Regions from separate parts of the Homo sapiens genome. Here region 2 is linked to region 1. The links are contacts of gene promoters, found by promoter capture Hi-C in blood cells and fetal thymus (Javierre and others, 2016). All regions are on one chromosome and are shown on one strand. The core of a region is centred on a gene start or on the middle of the fragment in contact, and the rest is flanking DNA. Distances in the headings are between cores, read along the strand shown.

The links. Contacts are between HindIII fragments. The CHiCAGO score rates a contact against its expected background, and 5 or more counts as called.
Region 2: a fragment that was not itself captured here is called in contact with the fragment with the promoter of LYSMD3 in region 1 in 3 of 17 cell types (naive CD8 T cells, total CD4 T cells and naive CD4 T cells); the score reaches 6.9 in naive CD8 T cells.

What each region holds. Positions count from the first base shown.
Region 1 is chr5:90,526,394-90,532,582 of GRCh38, forward strand. LYSMD3 (LysM domain containing 3) reads right to left here and starts at 3,191. Exons shown (of 3, transcript NM_198273.2): 1 at 3,055-3,191. RefSeq lists enhancers at 2,462-2,962, 3,588-3,847 and a silencer at 3,228-3,477. The HindIII fragment of the contact is 4,420 bases long and covers 1-4,288 here.
Region 2 is chr5:94,110,208-94,116,396 of GRCh38, forward strand. LOC105379087 (a long non-coding RNA gene) reads left to right here and starts at 1,495. Exons shown (of 7, transcript XR_001742441.2): 1 at 1,495-1,532; 2 at 2,118-2,197; 3 at 3,348-3,458; 4 at 4,540-4,594. It overlaps ARB2A (ARB2 cotranscriptional regulator A), which reads right to left and starts at 1,456. Exons shown (of 11, transcript NM_032042.6): 1 at 1,304-1,456. The HindIII fragment of the contact is 1,727 bases long and covers 2,615-4,341 here.

The DNA of each region.
Region 1 (6,189 bases), core at 1,941-4,440:
GTTAAAAACAGGCATCAATGAATACTTTTTGTTTACTTGCATACTAACTCTCAACTCACCATCATCAAGTTGATCTATCTACTCTCTTTAATTAGGAACACAAGAACCTAAAAAACTAATTCCACATTCACAGTTTTGGCTTCGTGTTAATTATTCACATAAGAAGGGGCAGACTGCTTTCAGTTCTTGTTGGGAAAGATGGAGGGAAGTAGTAAGAAGCACTTTGGAGATAAAATTCTTTGCACTCAAGGTGGTTCAGACATGAAGAGAGGGAGTAAATTAAGCATCACACCAAGATTTCTGATTTGCATAATACATTGTGGTGCCATTCTCTGAGATATGGAAGAGGAGCTGGGGGAGGAGGTGCATGGCTATGATTATGAATTCCTCTAAGATAGTAAAAAGGAATGGCAAATAGACAAATGGGCTATATAGTCAAACTCAGAGAAAAGGTCTAGGTTAGAAATAAAATTTCATGACTAATTTGCACATAGATGAAAATGAATTTGTGAGTACATATATTACCTAGAGAGTATAGAAAAAGAAGAGGGTCCAAGACTGAGCCTTGAAGAAGTCCAAAATTCAGTATCTTGGTGAAAGGAAATCAGCCTGAAAATATGGATAAGGAGTGTCCAGAAGAGGGAGAAACCATGGAAGTGTTATGTCATGGAAGCCAAAGCAAAATAACATCTCAAAGACTCACTATTTTTTGAATACTATGGATGAGTACCAAGCGAAACAAAAACAAACAAACAAAAAACAGAAAAGACCAACTCCAAAACTCTGAGTATATAAAATGGATGACAATAAATTACAAAGGTTGAGAATCCCTAACCCAAAAATCCAATCTTAAATACTCTGAAATTTGAAATACTTTGAGTGCTGACATGAAGCCACAAATGGAAAATTCCACAACTGACGTTTCAGATTTCAGATTAGGAATGCTAAACCTGTACAGGTATTCTGGTGATGTGCTTAGGTACCCTGAACACATTATTTTTTCACTGTATTAATGGTATTTTTTTTTTTTTTTTTACTGTTAAGCACTTATGTGTGAAAAAGTGTAAGAAAATGACTGCTTATTAGTAGCATACAAATTCAGAGTTAGGAATGACGGTGATGCCAAACAACCACAAATTTTCCACAAGGGTGGCTGAGATAGTGACACTTTTACCTGCTGATGGTTCCAGGTACAAGAACTTTTGTGCACAAATCATATAAAATTACCTTCCGACTATGTGTATAAGTTGAATATGAAACACAAATTTCATGTTCAGACAGGTCCCATCCCCAATGTATCTTATTATGTATATGCAAACATTCCAAAATCCAAAGAAATCTGAAACACTTCCGGTCTCAAGCATTTCAGGTAAGGACTACCCAACCTGTACTTTCTAGGCATATACTTATCATAAAATGCTTTAAAACTATTTAATATAGTTGAATCCAACCCTTGAAAAGCACTTTCTGACCTTGCTCTAATGGCAATATTATAATGCTTTAAAAGCTCAAGAGTTCCTATTCAGATAACACAGATAACTAATAGCTATATGTTAAGTAGATTATTTCAACTGTTCTCTGAAGTGCTACATTATTACCAAGAACTAGGATTCCTAACTTGACAGCTATGAAACTAAAGAAAACTATCACATTTTATATCTCAAAAGCAGTTTTGAAGTCATGACCACATCTTTTCCTCCAAGGATAACAGTTTTATTTCCACTCATTTAACCAGGTCTTTTTTTAATCTTGTGTCTTTAACCTAGGGAATGTCTTTGAATCCTGTAGATTCCAGGCAAATTTTATACATATGTATATTTTTCTGGGGAGAATTTTCATTGCTTCATATTCTCAAAAGGCATCCATGATCAAAAAAGTTAAGACTTAATATACAGCAATTTACACTTGGCTATACCGACCTACTTATGTGTCTTGTTAGACAGTTTCACCCTAATAATTTGTACTTAGAACTTCAAAATTGGCTTAGTAGTGCAGCTAACTGAAAATCACTAAGCAATGCCCCAAAGCCATTTTAGATACTTGTTTCTATCAACCTCTCTCCACGATATATTTCTAAATATAATTTAAAGGTCAGAACTTCACCTGTCTCACTATCTCTCCACTCCCCTTTATAATGAAATGCAGGCAGCTGACTATCGTGTTACAAATCTGGGTATTCTGAATGATCAAGAACTGGCTGTGTCTTCAACCGAAGTGAACAGACTGACCCAGGCGATCACTCCAGTCTACTACTCAGAGATTAGAAAATACATAATATTTAAGTCATCTGGCTCAATTCTATTCACCTCTCTTAATTCTCTTAGAGCAGGAAAAAGGCACGAACTCCCTTTCAGAAACTTGGAACAAGCCTGCGTGCTACCTAGATTACGAGGGGCCACAAAACAGTGTTAAAGCATTCTTCAGCTCAGTCTGTAACTGAAAACGGTTTCCCAAACACCTTCGTACTGTAGAATGGCTGCTGGGTGTTTCGCCTTGACCTTCTTTAACTAAGCAAGGTGCAATAAGAGGGTCACAGGGCACAAGTTAAAGCTGCAAAGGGACAGAATCAAAGGCACCCTATCCGCTGCCAGGGACAATTTTGTTTTTTAAAACTTAACTACCTCCTCCCTCTGTATTCCACACGTCAAGTTTTTCTTTCCCTGCTATCGTCAGCGAAGATTACGTCTCAGAGTCTTCTGTCACAGCATGACACTTGAACGATGTGACAAGATGCCGTCAGCGAATATTTCACGCCAACATAAAGTCGTGGGAGAAATGCTGTGTTTGGGTGGGAAATTAGCTGCCCAGGTAATCCAGCAGGTAGGCGTCCTTCCTCTGAGCCTCAGTTTCCCCGACAGTGTGACAAGAGGGCCTGGCAGGGCTGGTCTGGAAGTTCTTCCCTGTCTCGGGGGTGTCCGCCACACGGGCCGAGCCCGGCCCTGCAGCCCCCACCACACCTGTGGCCGAGGCTCAGCGCCTCCCGTGAGGACGCAGCTGGGGCTCAACCCCGCCCTCCTGGACCGGGCTACCCTCACCTCCTGCCACCATCTTTACCTGTCCCCGTTAGCAGGGAGCACTCTGCGAGAAGATGGCCAAAAGGTCCGCCGCCGCCGCTGTCCCGGGTAAGTTCATGGCCGAGCCTCTGCTTTGGGCTGACCCCGTCCGCCTCCGCCTCTGCCGCCAACGTCTCCGCCTTCCGGGCCGTACGCCGCCGCCACGTCCGCAAACCTGAGATGCGTCATCGCGTCAAGTGGGCGGAGGTGGGAAGGGGCGGGGGAGGACGCGGAGGGCAGCCCAAAACGGGGGAGTCCAACCACAGGTCCACGCCCGGCACGCAGGCGCAGGGACTCCTCCGGGGCCCGGGGGCGGGTCCAATCCCCGGGCCCGGGGGCGGGTCCAATCCCCAGCCCCGCCCTTGACTCCGCTCCTTCCGTGCCGCTTCACTCCCCGAGGAAAAGATTTGGTGGCCAAGTCAGCGGATCCAACCCGCGACCACCAGCGACCTACTGGCTGCGTCTTTGTCCAGCGTCCACACTGCGCTGGCAGAGACTGTCGGGTGCACCCTGAGGACGAGGCGTGGCTCAGGATGTGTCGGGGAGCTGTCTTGCATTTTTTTCTTGCTGTGCATCTCGAATTTTCTTTAGGGTGGGAAAGGACACCTCAAAAACACTGTTGACATCACGGTTTCAGAAAATTGCGCCATGTTTGTTACCCTTTTCATGCTGAAGACTCCAGACTGCTGCAGAAGAGGCAGAATTCTGGAGAGAAATCCTTGGGGGACCGAGGACGAGGGTTGGAGGGGGTTGTCTCACCCTTCCTGTTTTTAGGTGAGGGAAGTGAGCCACCTAGAGTCAGGCCCCAGGAAATGTTTTCCCTGGCTCGAGGAGTCAAGGGAGTCAACAAATTGTAATCTAACTTATTTTGGTTTGAAAATTAACTGAGTCATTGGTAGTCACCATTGGACTCTATGGAATATTAGCTTATTAAATAAACTCATGACTTCATACATGATTTTTATCACAAATGTGTTAAATGAGTATCATAATGTGTTTGAATTTATGTATGACTTTGGCAAAAGCCGCAACTACTTTTGCACCAACCTAATTAATGAATGTAAAGCATTTTAATGAGTCTGATGTCTCTCAGTGTTGATATTAGAGACGTTGCACTTTGACAACCATGCTAACTGTTACGACAATATCCATTTTAGGCACAAATAGCTGGGGTGCAGGGTGCAGAGCAGTGCTTTTCAGAATGTCTGAATATTTATACATTAGAAAGCCTTTGAAGCTTGGTTTTAAATTGTTTTTCAAAGAGTATGTTTTTGGTTTTCTGGTAAGTGCCTCTGCAAAGGTTAGGAGTTTTGCATTGCAATAGTTTTCTTTTATTAGCAGGGATAGGCACTGTGCTTCCCAGCGCCACAAAAAAAAACTGCAGGAGAAGACTTTTTTAAAAAGTTTGTCTGAATTGTTCTGTGTGTTGTTGCCCTCATGACACCCCTGTCTGTAACCATTTATCACTGAGACGTTCTCTCATCAGCAGACAAAGGATATATTCCCTGCTTGATATGTAGGACTTCGGCTGCTTAGCCCTCATGAATGTTAATGGGAATACAACCTTCTTTCTGTCTATAGGTTACTTTTCTTATTTTAATGTCAATAGACAGCGGAATTAATGTGAGAGCCAAAGTGATAGATTTCAAGCACTTCTATAGGACCGATACCTGTATCCTTCATATAAATAACTTTCTCAAAGATATCTGCATGCTCTTGAATAGTTATTTGTATTTAACAAGGATGCAAATATTAAACTTTTTATAAAAATGGAAGAATAGGATTATATTTTATTATTAGAATATACAAAAGAAGCAGTTAGCGTGAATTTTGGCCAAGTTCCAAAAAGCCGGCCAGTAGGAACAAGCATTTTGTCTTTGAGAAAAAGGATGTCCCCAGTGCTCAGCAGAGCCAAAGGATTTTTAGTGTTTCAAGATTTCACCTGACACAGTTTCTGTTAAAACGCTATAGATGAAAGAATATGTCATTTCTAGGAATATGTGTTTTAGTCACTAACGTTTAGTTTTTGTGAGTTGCCCTAGAGTAGAAGTTGTACTGAAGTGAGAGTGTAAATTGATGCAACCTGTTAGGCAATATCTATCAAAATTTTAAATGCAACTGACTGAACTATTACATTGCTAAGTAATTACCTTAGATTTACTTACAGACACATATGTGCAAGATTTAACAGATATGTTCAGGAATGTTTGCACAGTAATAGCCAAAATCTGAAAATATTTTAAATGTTTATCAGTAGTTGACTGATACTTCCGGTACATTAAAACAATATAATGTTATACTTGGTTTCAGAAGAGTGAAGTTAATCTGGCATTTGCTGATTTATTCATTCATTTACCTAATAAGTTTCTGTTGAAGAAAAACAGTGCTTAAAAAGACAAATTCCCCTTACTTATGGAGCTTGAATGACTGAAGCGTGTAGAAAGATCTTTAAAATGTATTTTAGTCTATTTTAGGAAGAAAAAATAGGAGGTATGATATTATTTCTATGGAATAAAATTTCAAATAAGCATCCCTCATCCTACCCCCCGTACCCCACCGACACACATATACACATACACATTCACACACACATATATGCAGAGAGATGCACTTAATTTTTCTATCTGGAAAGTCACTCAAGGAATTTTAACAGTGGCTGAAAAGGACTAGACATGGCAGGGGAGTAGGCAGGAAATTTTGCCTTTTCCTCTTAGAACTTTCTATATAGACTGAATTTTTATTACTACATGCTTTTATTATATTAAGAATTAACACATTTTATTTCTAAGTAACTGGACTTGTTTATTCTGGAGCTAACCTATAGTTAACCATCCATCTCTTAGTCATTCCTGAGTCTGTTTGTACTTTGTATTCAGGCGGCAAATGTCTGGAGAAAAGAACCAGATCAATTCTCTTATAAATCAAAAAATGAAAGGGTAACAAAACATTGAATTCTTTTTACACGTCTTCTTGATTTTCCTCTTTCTGATTTCTTTCAACCCTGCTCTTTTACTCTCTCCTCCTTCCTATTATTCCTATTTCTATCCTTATAGCAGCCTTTTCTATCCAGCTTCTACTTTTCAGAAGCAGAACTAGAAAGAACTGTTGGACAATAAGGAAATACTTTAAGTAATCT
Region 2 (6,189 bases), core at 2,228-4,727, 3.6 Mb after region 1:
ACTTGTTATATATTTACTTGTTAATTATACGTCTCCATCCACTAGAATGTAAGTTCCAGGAGCAAAAGGACTTTCTATTTTGTTTACTGCTGTCTTCCCATCACCTGAACACTATCCGGCACACTGAAGGTTGCCAGTAAATACTTGCTAAATGGATAAACAAGTGGATGCTCATGGTTTCATAGATAATATTTCCCTCTTGGCCTTGGTACTATTTATTCTACCATATGGAGCAGCCATAGCCTGAAAGCATCCAGAGCATCCTTAACTTTTCAGCGTAGGATTCACTGGTTAAGTGGAAGTAAGGCCTAGTTGAAAATTCTGAAAGAAGCCTGGTACCAGCACTGTCACTGAGGCCTTAACGAAGCAGATCCAAAAATACTCTCTTACTCAGTTTCTACATTCGCTAAATGTATACAGTGTAACCGTCCCTCGCATTGTAGGATAAAGAATACACCTTATCAATGAGATATTTGTTATGCAGTATATGGCATGCGTTAATGCAAACGATGTCATGTACTACATTAAAAAATCGCACTGATATTTTGATAAATATACAATGCACTTGTAGATAAAAACCAGAGAATTTTTCCCTCTACAGCTTTTTTGAGGATTTGGGAGAAATGGACAAATGCAACAACATTGCATGTCATTAAATACAGTATATCCAAACACAACGAGTTTCTTGGCCCAACAGATATAGACCCTGGAGCACTATAAGAATATGTTAAACACCTGGATGAGGGAAAGAGAAGACTGCTTCCAAAACATACTTACTTTATTTCAAAGTCAAAAGTATTCAACACTTAATTCATACTGCATCCCAGAGAAACGTCCCACCCGCGCCCATGCATGTTACAAGTTTTGAGAGCATTTTATAACTGCACTTTAATCCCTCTGCAGTGAATGACTTCTGGTAAAGCGCTGGCAGTTAATAATACTTTTTGTAGAAAAAAAAATTAATACAACAACCACAATACCTCCACTCGCAAGAAAGCGGAGGAGGGCCCATTACTCTGTCTCCAGGGACTCCCAGAATCCCGTACGCCCCGACATAAGGAAAGTCATCCAGGGAACACACACGTCGCTCCCGCCTAGAGAGTGGAAATGGAACATGGGACCTGCCCATCAGCGGAGGCCCAGACACAAGTCAGAGGTGTCCGCAGGGAATGCAGCGTGGTTCCAGACAGCCTCGGTCCCCAGGGCCAGCGACCACCGCCTGAGACCGACCCAGGCCAGCCCCCTCCTGATTTCGACCCGGGCCTGCCCCCGGAGCTCACATCCCCGCAAACGGCAGTCCTACCTGAGCTCTGCCCCCAGCCACAGGGCTGAGGGGGCAGGCGGGAGGAGGCGTGGCCTTCCAGTTCGCCAGTCGAACTCCCTCGTGCGGTTGTTATGACTTTCCCTCTCGGGATCCGCGCCCCGACCAAGTTCGAGTTGCACTTCCGGGGTCTTCAGGAGATTGATACGTCATTACGCACTTGACGGCAGCGGCGGCGACAACCCGGAAACGGGCGGGGCGCGGGCCCTGGGTAGGTTCCTGTGGTATTAGGTGGACTGGAGAAAGAGGCCCGCGTGAATTAAGTGTAGTTCTCTTATGCACTGGCGGACTCTGGTCGCCCTTCCTTGTGAAGGCTGCCTGGGTAGCCGTAGAGGACGAGGCCACTCTAAAGCCTCGTTTTCCCAGCGGAATTTTAACTATTCTAAGGATGTCCTTACAGCCAGTTCCCCACTCCGCTACTCAGAGTGTGTCAGACTTTACCCTGTCCATTCAACTCCAGAAAAACCGGGAGGTCTAGATTCGGAAGATTAAATTTACCTTTGAATTAGGACATGTAAAATAGGAAGTTAATATTAGCATCCTAATGACAAAAGTTTTCTCGTTATCATACTTGACTCAAATGGGAATCTTACGGATATTAATGTTTTTTCCAGAAACAGGTTTGAAAGGTATTTCAAGGATAAATCTGGGGAAAGGGATGGAAGCAACTGATTTTTAATTTTTAGATAGTACTCTCAGAGCATTTATTTAGTCCAAAACTGTTAATTTAATGAATTAGGCTAAACTAGACGCTGGGGTAACAAAGCTGAGTTAGATACCCTCTCCTCTGAGGCAGCTAAAGAGAAGGAAAGTCTGGTGGCTGACAAGTAAACCAACAGTTATGTTCTTCAGAGAGGAGATCTCAGACTCTCTAAGGTATACTTCACTTCCACACTGTTTGTACTTTGCAAATGTACCCTGCCCCCTAAAATGTAAACTCACTGATGGTAGTGACATAATCTTGTCTTTTTAATGTATCCTCAACCATACAACAGTGCCTGTCCACAAAGTAGACAATAAATACTTATTGAATGACTGAATGATCACAGTGGTAAATAATAGATTGGGGAAATCTAGAAAAGTGTATAGGACAAGAAGAAAGTGGTGTAAGTAAGTGGCGGGAGATAAGGAGCAGTAAAAGGTGAGAGAATCCACTGGAGTTAGCCAGAACTGAGTACCTGAATGAATCTCGGGCATTGCAAGACTGTTAGGGCTTCATTTCCGGAAAGAACTCAAATGGTTTGTAGAGTGACACTTTATACTGAAGAGGAAGGCAACAGCCAGATTCTGAAAAGCTTTCTATGTCATGCTGAGTAATTTGATTTTCTGCTGCAGACAATTGGGGAAGCTGAAGGATTGTTGAACAGAGGAGGGAAACATTTTTATTTTGGTGGACTTTTGCAACAGTGACAGATTATATTAAAAAGATAAGGCTCCCAAAAATGTATAATCCCAGTTTAACCATGAGAAAAACATCAGACAAAATACCTGACCAGTACTACTCCAAACAGTTAAAGTCATGAAAAACAAGGAAAGTCTGAGAAACTGTCTGAGCCAAGAGGAGCCTAAAGAGACCAACTTTAATGTTGGATCCTGAAATAGAAATAGAACGTAAGTGAGAAAACTAGTGAAAATTGAATAAAAAAGTAACATTCCATTAAGAGAATATACCAATGTTTACATAAAATATGGAGATTGGTCAAAAGATGAGTGACATGACCTTTCAATATTTCCAGGATAGAGGCCCACTCAAGGGTTAGGGGAATGTACTTTGTTCAGTAGTAAACTATTGAACAAACATATGGGTGCTTCAGCCTGCAATTCCAGCTGGACTTACATGGGAATGAATGAGCCTTCAGATTGTTCCTGTCATTGAGTCAGCTGGGGTCCAAAATTTCATAAAGCAGAGACGAGCCATCCCCACTGTGCCCAGTTCTGAATTCCTGACCCACAGAAACAATTAGAGATAATGAAAATGATTCTTGTTACTTTAAGCCAGTAAATTTTGGAGTGATTTGTTTTTCAGCAAAAGAAACTAATAGCTGTATGACAACAGCCAAAGAGTAAATATCCTTTCAAGTCCAATCCTGCCTAAGATGTCAAAATCAAGAATGAAGAGGTTATGTGCTGAAACAGAGTGAGTCCTTTTCTCTCCTTACTCTACCCTAAATGGTAAACTCCTGCCTCAGCTGACCACAAAAATATCTTCTGCAAATCTGTGAGGAGAAAGGAGGGAAAGCAACAAAAATTGTATGTGGGCTTAGATGTTTTGTTAGAATTACAACAGCCCATGTGTAGCTTAGCAGAAACCATTACAATGATGACTACACAATATAGTACAAAAATGTCCCCTCATTTTAACCATAGTCATCTAAACTGTACAAGTTAGTTTATAATTTTAATTTATACATCTCTAGGGAAGCCAGAAACTTCAGTTTCTCTCCCCACCTCTCTTCTCTTGCACTTCAAAATCCTACTAAGATAAGGAAAAAGGAAAGGAGATTTGTTCCCTCCTGGCTAACAGCTGGTCCATCTTTGATCACTAGGATGATCAAAGAAATGTCCCTATACCATATTTTGCGTATCCTCCTCCTATTCCAGACCACTTCCTTGGGCATCTATCTTTTTATCAATCTACTCCCACCCTTCACATTAAATGATTTCAGTGACATACAGCAGACAGACACCTCCAAAAATACTAACAAGGCTACATGTTGTTCATTTAAGTTAAAAATAAAATTTAAACCTACTTATCATGACTAGGACTCAGTGCCAACATTTTGGCAGCTCAAGAAAATCCATTAAGGAAAATATTCTTAATTAGATGCTAAGGGCAAAGCTCTGTCCAAACTAACCAACTGTATTAGAATGAGGTCTGGATTCTGACTTAAATTTGGAGAATCAAGTAACATTCCTGCCCTTGCTCAAGCCCAAGCAGGAATGTGCTGTGGTTTGAATGTGTTCTCTAAAAATTCATGCATTGGAAACATAATTGCCATTGTAATAATATTAAGAAGTGAAGCTTTAAAGAGGTGATTTAGGTGATAGGGACTGTGCCCTCATAAAAGGATGAATGCCATTATTGTGGGAGTGGGTTAGTTATCATGGGAGTGAGCTCCTGATAAAAGGATAAATTTGGTCCCCATTTTCTCTCTGTCTTGTGCACTCTCACTACTCTGTCTCACCCTCTCTCCCCCTGTGATGCTTTCTGCCACAAGATGACCTTCACAAGATGCAGCCTCTGGATCTTGGACTTCCCCAGCCTCCAGAACTGTAAGCCAAATGAATCTCTTTGTTTATAAATTACCCAGTGTGTGGTATTCTTACAGCAGCAGAAAATGGACTAAGACAGTATGTGTGAAGTGTGGATAGTAATTACAACAAGTTCTGCCTTCTAGATTCAGTTTATATTTAAAGCCCAAAAAGTAGGATCATATAACCAAATAATTTCTAATGACCCCTCCAACAAAATGATTATTACTTGAAATCAACCCCCTATCACTTGTACTTTCCATCTAGATGCTGGGGACACAAAACTGAGTTAGACCCAAGAACACCCTTTTCATTATGCCTGGAATTTTTTTAAAATGAGAAAAGATAACATATCAGTGTTCAAAACATACTTTAAGAGAATTTCGAACAAAAAAACATAAAATAGCCTCTAGTTTGTGATGGAGACAATTTGTAGGTTGATATATTTACCTAGAGTTAGACAACCTGTGAGGTTTGAGGGCACAGTCTCTAAGGTGTCCCTGATTTCTGACACCAACTGCAAGTTTGGAGGGTTCCCAGAAACACCCTCAGGTTTGAAATTTTGCTAGAAGGTCTCACAGAACTCACTGAAAGCTGTTATCTTTACAGTTACCATTTATTACAAGGAAAGAATACAGACTAACATCAGCCAAGGGAAGAAACACGTAAGGCAGAGTCCAAAAGGGTACCAAACACAGCGCTTTTGCTATACTCTTCCATTATTTGCTGTACTTTCCCAGTGGAGTCAAGACATGTTACCCTCCCAAAATCCATCCATGACAATATGCAATATAGAATTGCCAGTAACCCTTTTCCTGTTTGCCCTAAGAATACTCACGAGTGGCACTTGCAGCTGCAGCATTTACCTTGAGATTACTTTGCTGATATTGTTTGATGTGTCCCCCCCCCAAATCTCATGTTGAATTCCCATGTGTTGTGGGAAGGACCCATGGGAGGTAATTGAATCATGGGGGCAGGTCTTTCCCTGCTGTTCTTGTAATAGTGAATAAGTCTCACAAGATCAGATAGTTTTAAAATGGAAGTTTCCCTGCACAAGTTCTCTTCTCTTGTCTGCTGCCATGTGAGATGTACCTTTCAACTTCTGCCATGATTGTGAGGCCTCCCCAGCCATGTGGAATTGTAAGCCCATTAAACCTCTTTCTTTTGTAAATTGCCCAGTCTTGAGTATGTTGGATCTGTTTGGAGGGCTCTGAAGAAGACAGGAAAATGTGGGAAAGTTTGGAACTCCCTAGAGACTTGTTGAATGGCTTTGACCAAAATGCTGATAATGATATAAACAATGAAACCCAGGCTGAGGTGATCTCAGATGGAGATGAGGAACTTGTTGGGAACTGGAGCAAAGGTGACTCTTGTTATGTTTTAGCAAAGAAACTGGTAGCGTTTTGCCCCTGCCCTAGAGATTTGTCGAACTTTGAATTTGAGAGACATGATTTAGGGTATCTGGCAGAAGAAATTTCTAAGCAGCAAAGCATTCAAGAGGTGACTTGGATGCTGTTAAAAGCATTCAGTTTAAAAGGGAAACAGAGCATAAAAGTTTGGAAATTCTGTAGCCTGACAATGTAGAAAAGAAAATCCCATTTTTTGAGGAGAAATTC